Regions from separate parts of the Homo sapiens genome. Here regions 2 and 3 are each linked to region 1. Evidence: promoter capture Hi-C in human tissues and cell types (Jung and others, 2019). All regions are on one chromosome and are shown on one strand. Each heading gives the region's core, a stretch centred on a gene start or on the middle of the fragment in contact. The rest is flanking DNA. Distances are from core to core; before and after follow the strand shown.

The links. The method cuts DNA at HindIII sites, captures the fragments that hold promoters and counts their contacts. A contact is called where the count stands out against the background at its distance.
Region 2: a contact is called between a fragment that was not itself captured here and the fragment with the promoter of ENOX1 in region 1, in 2 of the 25 tissues and cell types used here (heart left ventricle and hippocampus).
Region 3: a fragment that was not itself captured here is called in contact with the fragment with the promoter of ENOX1 in region 1 in 5 of the 25 tissues and cell types used here (H1 embryonic stem cells, bladder, hippocampus and 2 more).

The regions. Positions count from the first base shown.
Region 1 is chr13:43,785,174-43,789,146 of GRCh38, reverse strand. ENOX1 (ecto-NOX disulfide-thiol exchanger 1) reads left to right here and starts at 2,175. Exons shown (of 17, transcript NM_001347969.2): 1 at 2,175-2,495. The HindIII fragment of the contact is 9,406 bases long and covers 1-3,973 here.
Region 2 is chr13:43,471,875-43,475,847 of GRCh38, reverse strand. The region is part of intron 3 of ENOX1 (ecto-NOX disulfide-thiol exchanger 1); the gene reads left to right. Among named protein-coding and RNA genes, the nearest start is that of ENOX1-AS2, 25 kb to the right of the region's middle. The HindIII fragment of the contact is 4,893 bases long and covers 1-3,973 here.
Region 3 is chr13:43,493,216-43,497,188 of GRCh38, reverse strand. The region is part of intron 2 of ENOX1 (ecto-NOX disulfide-thiol exchanger 1); the gene reads left to right. Among named protein-coding and RNA genes, the nearest start is that of ENOX1-AS2, 46 kb to the right of the region's middle. The HindIII fragment of the contact is 5,387 bases long and covers 1-3,973 here.

The DNA.
Region 1 (3,973 bases), core at 926-3,425:
TAAAGGGACCCCCACTAAAGAACACACGGTACCCAAATAAATCCATTTTAATTTTCACTTTATTTCAGTTATATTTCACAGCTGTGGTATCATGAGTGGAGAGAGAAGCAGCTCATAGGCGGGCCTGAGTTCAAAGGAATTGAAATTTAGCATGAAATGCAAAATTGAAGACTTCTGCTTCTAAGACGATGATTGTAGAAATACCGAGGTCGAAGGATGTGGACTTGGTGCTACACCAGACAGCAGAATTAGCAGTCTGGGGTGACCCTGCATGTATTGGTCAGTGTCCATGAACACTACTCTTTACAGGAGAAAAATGCGTACCTGATAAGCTATTAGAAATGTGTATTTCTGGCCTGGAGCGGTGGCTCATGCCTGTAATCCCAGCACTTTGGGAGGCCGAGGCAGGCGGATCACTTGAGGTCAGGAGTTGGAGACCAGTCTGGAAAACATGGTGAAACTGTGTCTCTACTAAAAACTAAAAACTAAAAAAAAAAAAAAAAAAAAAAAAAAAAAAAAATTAGCCGAGCGTGGTGGCCGGCGCCTGTAATCCTAGCTACTAGGAGGCTGAGGCAGGAGAATTCGCTTGAACCCGGGAGGCAGAGGTTGCAGTGAGCCGAGATCGCGCCACTGCACTCCAGCCTGGGTGACAGAGCGAGGTTCCGTCTCAAAAAACAAAAAACAAAAGTGTATTTCTCTTAAAACTGTTTTCCCCATCCTTCTGCTCTAGAAGGGACAGTATAAACTGCTGGTGAACACTGACTTTCACATTTTGAGAGGTTAGGTTCTGAGCTTTGGCCCCCTCACACCCAGGGCATCCCACTGGGGTCCCTGCAGAGTGCTTCTACATGCATCCTTTGTTAAGGGTGCACAATGGATAAGTATTATTTTCTTTCTTTGCATTGGGGTTCTGACCGCCAGGGGGAAAAATAGCCACACACAAGGAAATGGCATAAGTTAAAATCAGGCAAGCCTAGTGGGGTGGTAATGACTTTCCCAGCATCCAAGTCTTTGCCTTCAGGTTACGTGAAGCTAGAAAACAATGTCATTCATTCAACATTTACAGGGAACTCACAAAGTACAGAGTACTATGCTAAGCACTGGAAGGCATGCAAAAGTGTGCAAAACACAATCCCTGCATTGAGGATTCCTGCCAGAAAGGGTATTTCAAGTATTACCCAGACCTTACGACCCTTGAAGAAATGCTTGTGTGAATAAAATCCCACTCAGAATTTAAAATAAGCAAGGAAAAGTATACTACTAAGACAATATATCTGTTAAGAGGCAGAGAATGTAAATGTGCTTTAAACATTTATTTCTGAAGTATTACAATGTAGTTGGGATGGAGGATCGGGGGATGTGGGTGTGTGTGGGGAGGTGGTGGGAGCGGTTCTTGGACGAGCCTGACTCTAAGGAGGCACTGCTTAGATGCCTGCACAGCTAAGTTGAATCCTAACAAAGAGGAGGCCGGCATTCTTACCTGGGAAGTGGGTAACTTTGAGAAAAAGTAGCCTCCAAGGAGGAAAAAAAGGCAACATGTCACCTGGGGTTAGGATCCCCTCACCCTTACCAACCTGAATGCTGACCGCACCCCGGCCGAGCCACTCTGGGCCGCACACCCCGCATCATCTGCCCAGGCCACGCGGCCCAATTCCACCGTCTACCCCAAGCCCACAATCCTGTAACACGCCCGCTCCAGCCTGGAGTCGGCCACGTGCGCCCGGGTTCTTCTCTTGGCCCTTCAGCGGGCCCGGCCCCTCCAAGGTCGCCGTAGCAACCGTGCGGTCCCTCTCTCGGTTCCCCCGCTCCCAGTAGAGCAGTCCCGACCGCGGCGGCGGTGGCGGGAGCGAGCGGCCTCGGCCCCTCCCGAGAGGGGGCAGCGCGACCGTGGGCTGCGGGCGCCGCCTCTGCTGCATCGGTGGCTGCGCGCTCCGCTCGGCTCTGCCGGGCTGGGATCCGGAGCCCTAGCGCGCCTCGCTGACTTCCCCTCCTCCTCTGCTGCCGCCCCGTGGGCAGCTTCTCCAAGCGAGACACGCGTTCGATCCTCCTTCCCCGCGTTTACGGATTTCCGGGGTCGTAGAATTTTGCCTCGGTCCCTACGAGCATCTCTCGGCCTCTCTCCCCCTCCCCTCGCGACTCCCCCACCCCGTGGGCGCGCGCGCACCCATACACTCACACTCGCAGGCGCGCGTGCGCACGCCCGCGCGCCTCCAGCCGCGGAGTCTCCAGCGCCCCTCAGCAGATCCCCGCTCTCCCGGGCGCCGCTACTCACACAGGCTTCCAGCCGCCACGGGGCGTCCTCTGTCTGCTGCAGCGGCGGCGGCAGCAGAGGGAACGGCGACTGCAGCCCGGCCGCGTCTCCCAGCTCCGTGCCCGGGACAGAGTCCGGGAGAAGCAAAGGAGGAGGAGGACGCCGAGGCTAGGAGGAGCCGCGCCGCGCCCGGCGCCCCACTCCGCGCAGCGGGTTGCCTCCGCTCCCCATACGGCGGCCCCAGGTAAGCAGCTCCGGGGCCCGCAGCCTCCCTGGGGCGTCCGGGCTCCGAGCCGGGGTCCTCTGGTCTCACCCCCGCCACGGCACCTGGATCTAGACTGAGAGGGGAGTGGGCGAGGGGGGAGGGGAGTGGAGCTAGAGGTGAGGCTGGTGAGGAGGGGTGCGTGGACGCGTGGGGGCTTCGGTGCAGCCCCCACGCCCTTCCCCGCCGTGCCCCGTCTCAAGCTCCCTCACTTTTACGCGCCCGGGGGTGCCCAGCGCCCCAGACAGCTGTTCCCCGCTCTCCCCTCCGCCCGCCAGCCAGTGTCAGCTCCGGGCTCCGCGCCCGCCGCGCGCCAGTCACCTCCCCTGCACCTTGGACAGCGCACCCCGCACCCGTCTCCCCCTGCGGGCGTCGCCCCCGGGACCCGTTCCTGCCCACACAGTGTTCCCGCTGCCCTCTTCTTTCAGGTTTTCACCCTCCCGCTCTGCATCCCTTTTCCTCCAGCCTTGGCGGACTCCGCTCTGCTGCGGGCCGGAAACTTTCCTCCCCGCCTAGTCTGCGCTGGGTACTGTTGTTATTCGTGACTGTCCCCTCTCGCGGGGAGCTCGGACACCTTGGACAGGTCTTCGTCGGCGGGAGCGCGCCCTGCCTGGCCCAACGCGAGGTAAAGGAGGCACTGGGGCAGCCGGACTCGGCCGCTGCCAGGGTGCAGAGCCCGCGCCTCGGCCGCTGGACGCCGGCCGCCTCCCCGCCTCTCCGGACCCGACACGTGCGAGCCTCCCACGGACGCGGCCCCTCCCAGACCACCCCACGTCCTCCCCCTGCACGGCCACAGCCACCCCATAGGTTGGACACCCGGGGCTCGCGGGTCCTGATTGGCTGAAGGCGTAACCCCGCCCTCTTTCGGAAGGGGGGTGGTTCTGGAGTGTTGTGGTTGTCATCCCGCGGCGAGCACATGGGGAAAGTGGGGTCGACAGGTGGGCAAGCCCAGCTCTGTGGAATCTCTGCGTCTCACTGTATAGCCACTGAGCCACGCTTCTTCACCCAGATACACTCCTGCTTCTCTCCTTTTCTCTCCCTCAATCTTTCACTGCTGTAACATTACATGAAAAAAACTGGCTTTGTAATCCCAATTTTGTTAAGATTGCATTTGTTTGGTGGTAGCAATTTTTAAAAGCAGACCCAGGAGAATGCAGGAAATACGTGCGTATGGAAAGGTTCCTGGCCAACTGGGCTGCAGATTTGAGTCTGGTAGTTTGGAGAAAGCAATGAAGCGTGCTTAAGGGATCTGAAGAGGGTGGAGAAAGTGGGAAGGAAATTGATTCCTGGAGGAGAGACGCAGGTGAGCGAGCTTGGAAAGCTGAGCTGGTGGGCCCGCTCGAGAGGTGGGTGCGTGCTGTTGGAGACGGCTCTGTCAAGCAAAGTGGTAATATTGGCTGGTACTTAGTTTATGGTTAACACACTCTGCTTTTGTTTTACTAGCGTTGCCACTTTGATAG
Region 2 (3,973 bases), core at 671-3,170, 310 kb after region 1:
TGTTTTGCTATTCTAAGAGATTAAAGCCTTTCTTTTTTTTTTTTTTTTTTTTTGGTCAGTTATGTTTTTGTATATGATTGTGGCCTGGGCCAATGCCACCACTAAGAAAATGGAACTTTTAAAAATTCAAGAGTAAAAGCCACTATTTCTAGAACTGACACAGCCCTTCCTAGGTTCAATCATTACCCCTTTAAATTATTTATTCCCTTCCATATCTGGAAATTATTAGGCTGTAAATGATCTCACCACTTCTCAAATATGATTTCGTTTATGAAAAGATTAATTAATAAGTATTGAGAACTTCCTTTGATTTTCCTTAGCAATGCTCTGGTCTTTTCTGAAAGTTGAGTTTATAGGATTTCCCTCTCCTTAATCTTCATTTTTGTTGTATTTGATGGAATTCTACTAAGCTACAGTATTTATGCCAAGTTTCATTTTCAGCAGACTTTCATAATTGAGCCTAAATCCTCAGAAAATAGAGTTCCTATCAGAAATGTTGGCACACGTTCCCTATTGCTGCTCCGCTGGCCATCTCCACACTGCTTAGGCTGTTGTGGACATGTGGAATCAGCAGGGAAATGCTTTTCACTTTTAGCTCACATATGTTTTTAAGTAGAATTTTTCTGTAGTGGTACTGATATCCCCAGTATGAGATTAGTAGTACTATTTTCTTAATGGTCAAATTTTGATATTTATCAATAGCCATCATAATGATAGATCTGCTGATGGCATCTGGCACATTAATTTGTAAATGTGGTAGAATTCCAACACCGTGTAAACTCTTTCTGGTGGATTTTACTTTAGAAAATCAACTCACTGCTCTTCCAATCTGTCTGCCTTCAAGTTGTTGCATGAGGATTCATCTCAAATCACCAGCAAACCTGCAACTTCTTTACCTCCTTCTCCCTTTCTCTGTGGGTAGGCCCATTCTCTCAGGAATACCAGACAAGAGGGTCAAGCTACCGAGAAACATGAGAAAACATGTCTAGTAATAGACCTGCTGAAATCACTCTATATTTGTTTTTCTTTTCTTTTTACATCAGGGTCCATATTAATTTTTCTTAAAAAGTAATAGTTAGACCACCAATGGCTTAGCAGGAGGAAGATTGGTCATGGTATTGGATTCTAAATTTTTCAAATACAGTTTGAGAAAATATTCATCAAACTTTGAAATAGAATAAAGAAGAGTGAGAAAAGTAAGTGTAGGTCTTAATTCCAGTGAGAGGAATCAGCAACTTCGTTTCAAATACATTGAAACCTGAATTTGGAATCTTTCATACAGAAACTGCAAAGCAAAATTTAAGGATAAGCAATGCATTATTCCCAAAAGTGTTGAGAAGACAAAATTAGATTAACAGGTCTAAGCAAAAAACAAAGCTAGTAAGTGTTAGAAACTTAGAAAAATCTTAAATTTCAAGTGTGCTCTTAATACTTGAGACATAGACATAAATAATTAAGCACAAAGAGTCTCAAGGATGCTTGTATAAGAGACAAAATTAATATAGGGAAGCCTCCTTAATTAGGGTGAACTAGGGAGAGAGCACACTTGTTGGAAGTAGGTGATGTTTCATTTCAAGGGCAGTTGTACACTCTCAAGTAAATCCAATAATATAAGCTTGTTCCTGATGGGAACCTCAACAACAACAAAAACCCTCGCTATCTTGCTTCACGAATATCTAATTTTCCCCTATGAGTTTTGCTCCAGGATGATACATAGTGGAAGGAATCACAACAGTTTGGCCTTTCACCATCTTAAGCAACTTGTATTAATTTTAAAAACCTAAGCCAGTGGTAAACTTAATTTGAATATAGATGTCCTAATATACTTTTTTGACAAATTCATTACTATTAAAAGGATGTTTTAAGATTACAGGTGTATTGGTGCTGTAGCCCAGAATGATGATTTCCAAGTGACGATGTTCATTTACATATAGCATTTTATTTCCCGTTAACAGTTAGGATTTACTCAAGGAGAAGAATAATAAGACATTAAAGTGCAGGGCACCTGACTTCCTGCTTCTGTCTCCATTCAGAGAAAGAGGTTACAGAGTACAGACATCCCAGCACCCCTAGCACAGGAGAGATAAGGGGAGGAAAAGATAAGGACTAGGAAGGGAGATTGCCAACCAGCTTTCTCTTCCCTATTAACCCAAAATTTGGCATGCAGCCAGTGTTTCTTTAATTTTTTCTTTAGCTTCTATTGATAGCCCAGAGATGAGTGCGTATGCTGGAGTTAGGAGAGGGACTTCCCTTTTAAATAGACACAAGAGAACTGCATATTTTTATGAAAAGGACATTTTTGAAGTTCTTTCCTAAAATGTGGACAACACTTGAATAAATACTATAGGCAAACATTTTCAAGATAAAATTTCTGAGATCATTTCCACTCATTTAGAATTTTTCACACACACAAAAGACTGTTAGTTACCGAACAATGCCATCACTGTTAGAAATTCCATCCTAAATTTTAGCAGAGAATGTGTAATCCCCCCAAAAAAGAAAAGTTAAGGGAATAGAATGTATTTTTCATTTAATTTAAAATAACTTTTTGTTGTTTTAAAATTCTGGATAAAAATCCATTAGTCATAGTTTCTTAGAATTATCACAAGAATATATATTCAACAAGCCAAAGGATGACAGTCATAGTAGGATGAAACAATGTTCAACATTCTACAGCTCAGTTTGCTCATCAGAAAGATTACTAAATTGAGAGACGATGTGAAGAAATTCCACTTGCTTGGAAAATATCTGTTTATAAAAATGATAATACAAGACCCATAGAAAATATAATTTATGAAAACCTATTTTCATTTCTGCCCTTCTTAGCAAAGTGAGACATAACCCACTTAAGAAATTCTACTCCCTTTTATTCCTGTCTGAGAATTCCTGCCATTTGAGAAAATATGCTGTTGCTTAATTTATTGGTTGGAAATGCTAAAATTGTATTTGTGAAATTAATATTGTAAAAAGAGATGGCAAGACGTAAATAGTATTAACCTTTCATTACTCTGTACTTAGAACATTTTTTTCCTGAAATTTCCGTACCCAGCTTCATTTTCCAAAGGTCCTGGAAGACCTTCATAGAACTTGGCTCATATTAGGCTACAATTTAAATGTTTACTGGACAAATAAACAAGAAAAATAATTAAAGGTAGCCTACAAAGGTGAATTTCCAAAAATCCCATAACCTCAGTGGGCTAAATACCAGATGGAGAAGGGTGCTGCAGATATGATGCTCCACATTTTCCTTTTATGCTTCGTCTCCAAGGCCCTACTCTATTTATTGCTGTGGCATCTGGCAGGCTTTCTTTTCTGGGCTCCACATGCACCGTGCCGTGTGTTAGAATTTTCCTGGAATGAAAGTCAAGGAAATACCGTTTCTAAAAATATGCCTTATGGGGTTTTTTAAATATAATATTTCCTTTCTACTAGCTCATTCACTTAGGGAGCCTAATAAATGGTATTCACATGTAGAAAAAAATCACGGTGAATCTGATTTTTTTCTATGCAACAAACATAACAATTGTTTTAACAAAGTGTGCAAACATTGTCTTCTTTCTCAGGAAGTTTTATTTTTGTGGGTTTATGGCTACAGACGTTCTATGCTTACTAAAAATAGTAGCTAAAACATTTATTCAGTGCTTATTTATACCAGGAACTGTTTTTTACATATATTGGCAAGTATAGTCCTTTAACAGTCCTGTATAGTAGATATTATTTTTTATATTTTATAAATGAGGAAATTATGCTTAGACTATTTATGAAGCATGGCTAGTAACTTACAAAGCTGGGATTGCTTTCTCTTTTTTTCTTTTAATTTTTCTTTTCTTTTTTTTTGTGAAAGTCTTAGTTTTAAAGAATTTTTTTATTTAAACATTTTATATTCAAATGTTTAACTATTCCAAATAGTTTAAAGAAGTTTACAGTAAATACTCATATACCCACCACTGTGCATCATTCTATCCCTCTGTCC
Region 3 (3,973 bases), core at 523-3,022, 290 kb after region 1:
AATTGTATAGAAAATCCTATGGAGTCTAAAAAAGATCTATTTGAACTTAGCAAAAATCTCTTGAATTTACAAGGTTTCAGGATGCAAGATAAATGTAAAGTATCAGTGCTATTTCTATACAGTAAGAAACATTTGGTAAATGAAATTGCAAATGGAAGACTCTATATTAAGATTTTTATTTCAAAATATGTGTATATTTAACACAGTCCCAAAAGTTTATGTTTTTTTGGTGGAAATTAATAAATTGGTTCTAAAATTTATACAGAATTATAAGGACTTATTAGTGTCAAATTATTTTAGAAAAAGATGACAGTGTTGGGGGACTAGCTTTCTGATTTCAAGACTTCTATAAAAGTGTTAAGAAAATATGATACTAGACAAAGATAGACAAATAGATCAATGGAACAGAATATGTTATCATGAAATAGACACAGACTTATACAGTAAATTGATTTAATAACAAAGCAATTTTGTTACATATAGGAGAAAGGCTCATTAAGAAATGGAGGCTGGGTGTGGTGACTCATGCCTATAATCCCAACACTGTGGGAGGCCGAGGTGGGAGAACTGCTTGAGCCTAGGAGTCTAAGACCAGCCTGGGCAACATAGCGAGACCCTATCTCTAAATAAATAGTCAAAGTAGCTGAGCATGGTGGTGCACATCAGTAGTTCCAGCTACTTGGGAAGCTGAGGCAGGATTGCTTGAACCCAGGGGTACTCGGTTACAGTCAGCTATGATTGTTCCACTGCACTCCAGCCTGGGCAACCAGAGTAAGACACAGTCTCTTAAAAAAAAAAATAGAAAAAGAAAAAGAGCCAATTGCTAGAGCAATTATTGAAACAGAATGAACCTTAACACCTTCTTCAGACCATACACAAAAATTGATTCAAAGTATATACTTTGAATTAGATCTTTACATGAAAGTAAAATTTATAAGATTTCTAGAAAAAGTCAAAAGATGATAACTATTTCTTAGGATACTAAAAGCACTCACATTATAGAAAAAAATCAGTTAACTATACTCCACAAACATTAAAGGCTCCCTATAAAAAAACATTTTTAATAGGCAAGCCACAGAAAGGGCAAATATTAATAGTTTGCAATACATATGTATGAAAAGGAATTGAATCTAGAATATTTAACAAAGCTTTACAACTCAAAAAATACAAAGAAAATATTTTTCTTCCAATTGGCAAATTACTTAAACAGAACCTTCACAAAAGAAGATAAGAATGTTTAATAAACATTTGAAGCCATAATAATGACATCATTAGCCATGATGGAAATGTAAATTTAAGTACCACTTCACATCCACAAGAAAAAGATAAAAATAAAAGGACTGAGCTCACCAAACATTGGTGAGGATGTGGTAATACTGAAATTCTTGTACCGTGCTCCTGAGGGTATAACATATTACAGGATTTTTTTGAAAACTAGTGGTTCCTTATAAACTTAATGCCCTGGCAACCTCACACCTATTTACTTAAGAATGAAAGGATATATGGCTTTGTATAAGAACATAAAGCCCTGAGAAGAATGTTTGTAATAGCTTTGTTTATTAATAGCCAAATACTGGATCAAGCCAAATGACCATAGACAGGAGAATGGATAAGTTATGGTAAATTCATATAATGTAATATTATATGTAGTAGGTTATTAGTCGTTTATACAATTGAATACTTATGAATTAACTACTGGAAGATTTAACAAGAATTATAATCATTACATTGAACAAAAGGAACCAGGCATAAAAGAACATATGCTATCTGGTATACCGTATGATTATATACAGAGTTCAAGTATAGGCAAAGCCATTTATGGTGATAGACATTGAAATTTCACATTTGAGTGGGGCTTGACTAGAAGGAAACTTTCAGGGGTGATGGAAATGTTTTGTATCTTGACTTGTGTGTAGGTTACTTGGGAAGGTATATTTATCAAAGCCTAGTGAACTGTACACCTAAAATCAGTGCATTTTACCATATATTATACTCGCTGAACAATAAATTAGAGATAGTCTTTGATAGTCTCTATTGATCTTTGGTGAAACATTTATCAAACTTAGATTTTCTGTATTCATAAAACATAGGAAGGAATGTGGCATTTCTCAAACTTGGCATATCTCAAAGTAAAGTCACTATCATTTTATACTCCCTAAGCATGCAGACATATACCAGCTCCCCTCTTGAATCTCCACATTCTGTCAGTGTTCTTACAGTCTCCCCCACACCTAGGCTCAAAATATTCCTATAATTGTTGACTGCATCTTTTTTCTCATTATCCATTTCATCTAATTGATGGAATTTTTTCTCTGCATTTTTCTTCCATCCAACCCTACTTTTATATTTCCACTGCTGTCTAACTGACCTATTCAAATAGCAATAGCCTTTTTTCCTATTCTAAACTTTGATGCCACGTTCATCTTCAAAAACACTTTTAATTGAAATCTGATACTTCTGCTCTAAAGCAGCCTATAAAATTTCAAATTTGTTATTCTCAATTTCACAATCATCTTATTCTCCAACTCCATAAAACTCCACTCTGTGTGTCACTCCCGTGTGTCATGATTTGTCTCATCTCTACTATTTTGTTTATTATTGTGAAAGAATGAATATATGTGCCTTCTTACAATATTAAAGGTACCTTCAGTAAAGGTACAAATAAATCGTAAACAATAAGTTAGTTGGGGGACTGTTCCGTCATTTTCTTAGGTTATATGAAGACACTGCTGGAGAAGCTTTAGTTTTGACTCATTTGTTTAACAAGAATGTAGTCACTGTGCTGGACACAGTACAATATTTGTTTGCAAACATGATGTACGTGGTCTCTGCTTGACAGAACATGAAGCTTACCATATTAGAGAGGAATCCAAAAATTATAATTCATTGTGATAAATGTGATGGGAGGGCTGTCATATTAGTCTCACAGTATCTGTGGGTCTTCGTATTAGTTAATTGTGATTATTGTGATGGTTGATTGGGTGTCAGTGTGACTGGTCTAAGGATGATATGGTTTGGTTGTGTCCCCACCCAAAATCTCATCTTGAATTGTAATCCCCATAATCCCCACATGTCAAGGGAGAGACCAGATGGAGGGAATTGAATCATAAGGGCAGTTTTTCCCATGCCATTCTCATGATAGTGAGTTCTCACGAGATCTGATGGTTTTATAAGTATTTGGTAGTTCCTCCATTTATTTTCCCTCCTGCACCTTGTGAAGAAGATGCCTTGCTTCCCCTTTACCTTCTGTCATGATTGTAAGTTTCCTGATGCCTCCCCAGCCATGCAGAACTGTGAGTCAGTTAAACCTGTTTCCTTTCTAAATTACCCAGCCTCGAGCAGTTCTTTGTAGCAGCGTGAGAATAGACTAAAACAAAGGGATACCCAGATAGCTGGTAAAGCATTAATTATTCTCAGTGCTTCAGTAGGCACTGAGCTTGTCCTTCTCCTGATGAAAGGGAAACCCAGATGGACTGTTTTGGCATTTGATTAGAATGATAGGCCTGCCCCCAGGGGAATCTGTGAAGGTGTTTCCAGAAGAGATTAGCACTTGAGTCAGTGGACTGAATGGGGAAGATCTGCCTTCAATGTGGGTGGTTACTATCCAATCAGCTGGGGTTCCCAGATGGAAAAAGAAGGCAAAGGAATGGTGAATTCTCGCTCTTTCTGGGAGCCAGGATGGCCTTTTCCTTCTGCTGTTGGATATCAGAAGTCCAGACTCTGTTGTCCTTGGACTCCAAGACTTACACCAGCAATGCCCCTAGGCTCCTGGGCCTTTGGGCTTGGTGTGAGAGTTACTACTTTCTTGGTTCTAAGGCCTTCAGACTTGAATTGAGCCTTGCTATCAGCTTCTCTTGTTCTCCAACTTCCAGATGGCTGGCCTATCATGGAACTTCTCAGCCTCCATAATCAAGTGAGCCAATTCCCCTAATAAATCCCTTATTATACATCTCTCTCTCTATAGGTCCTATCA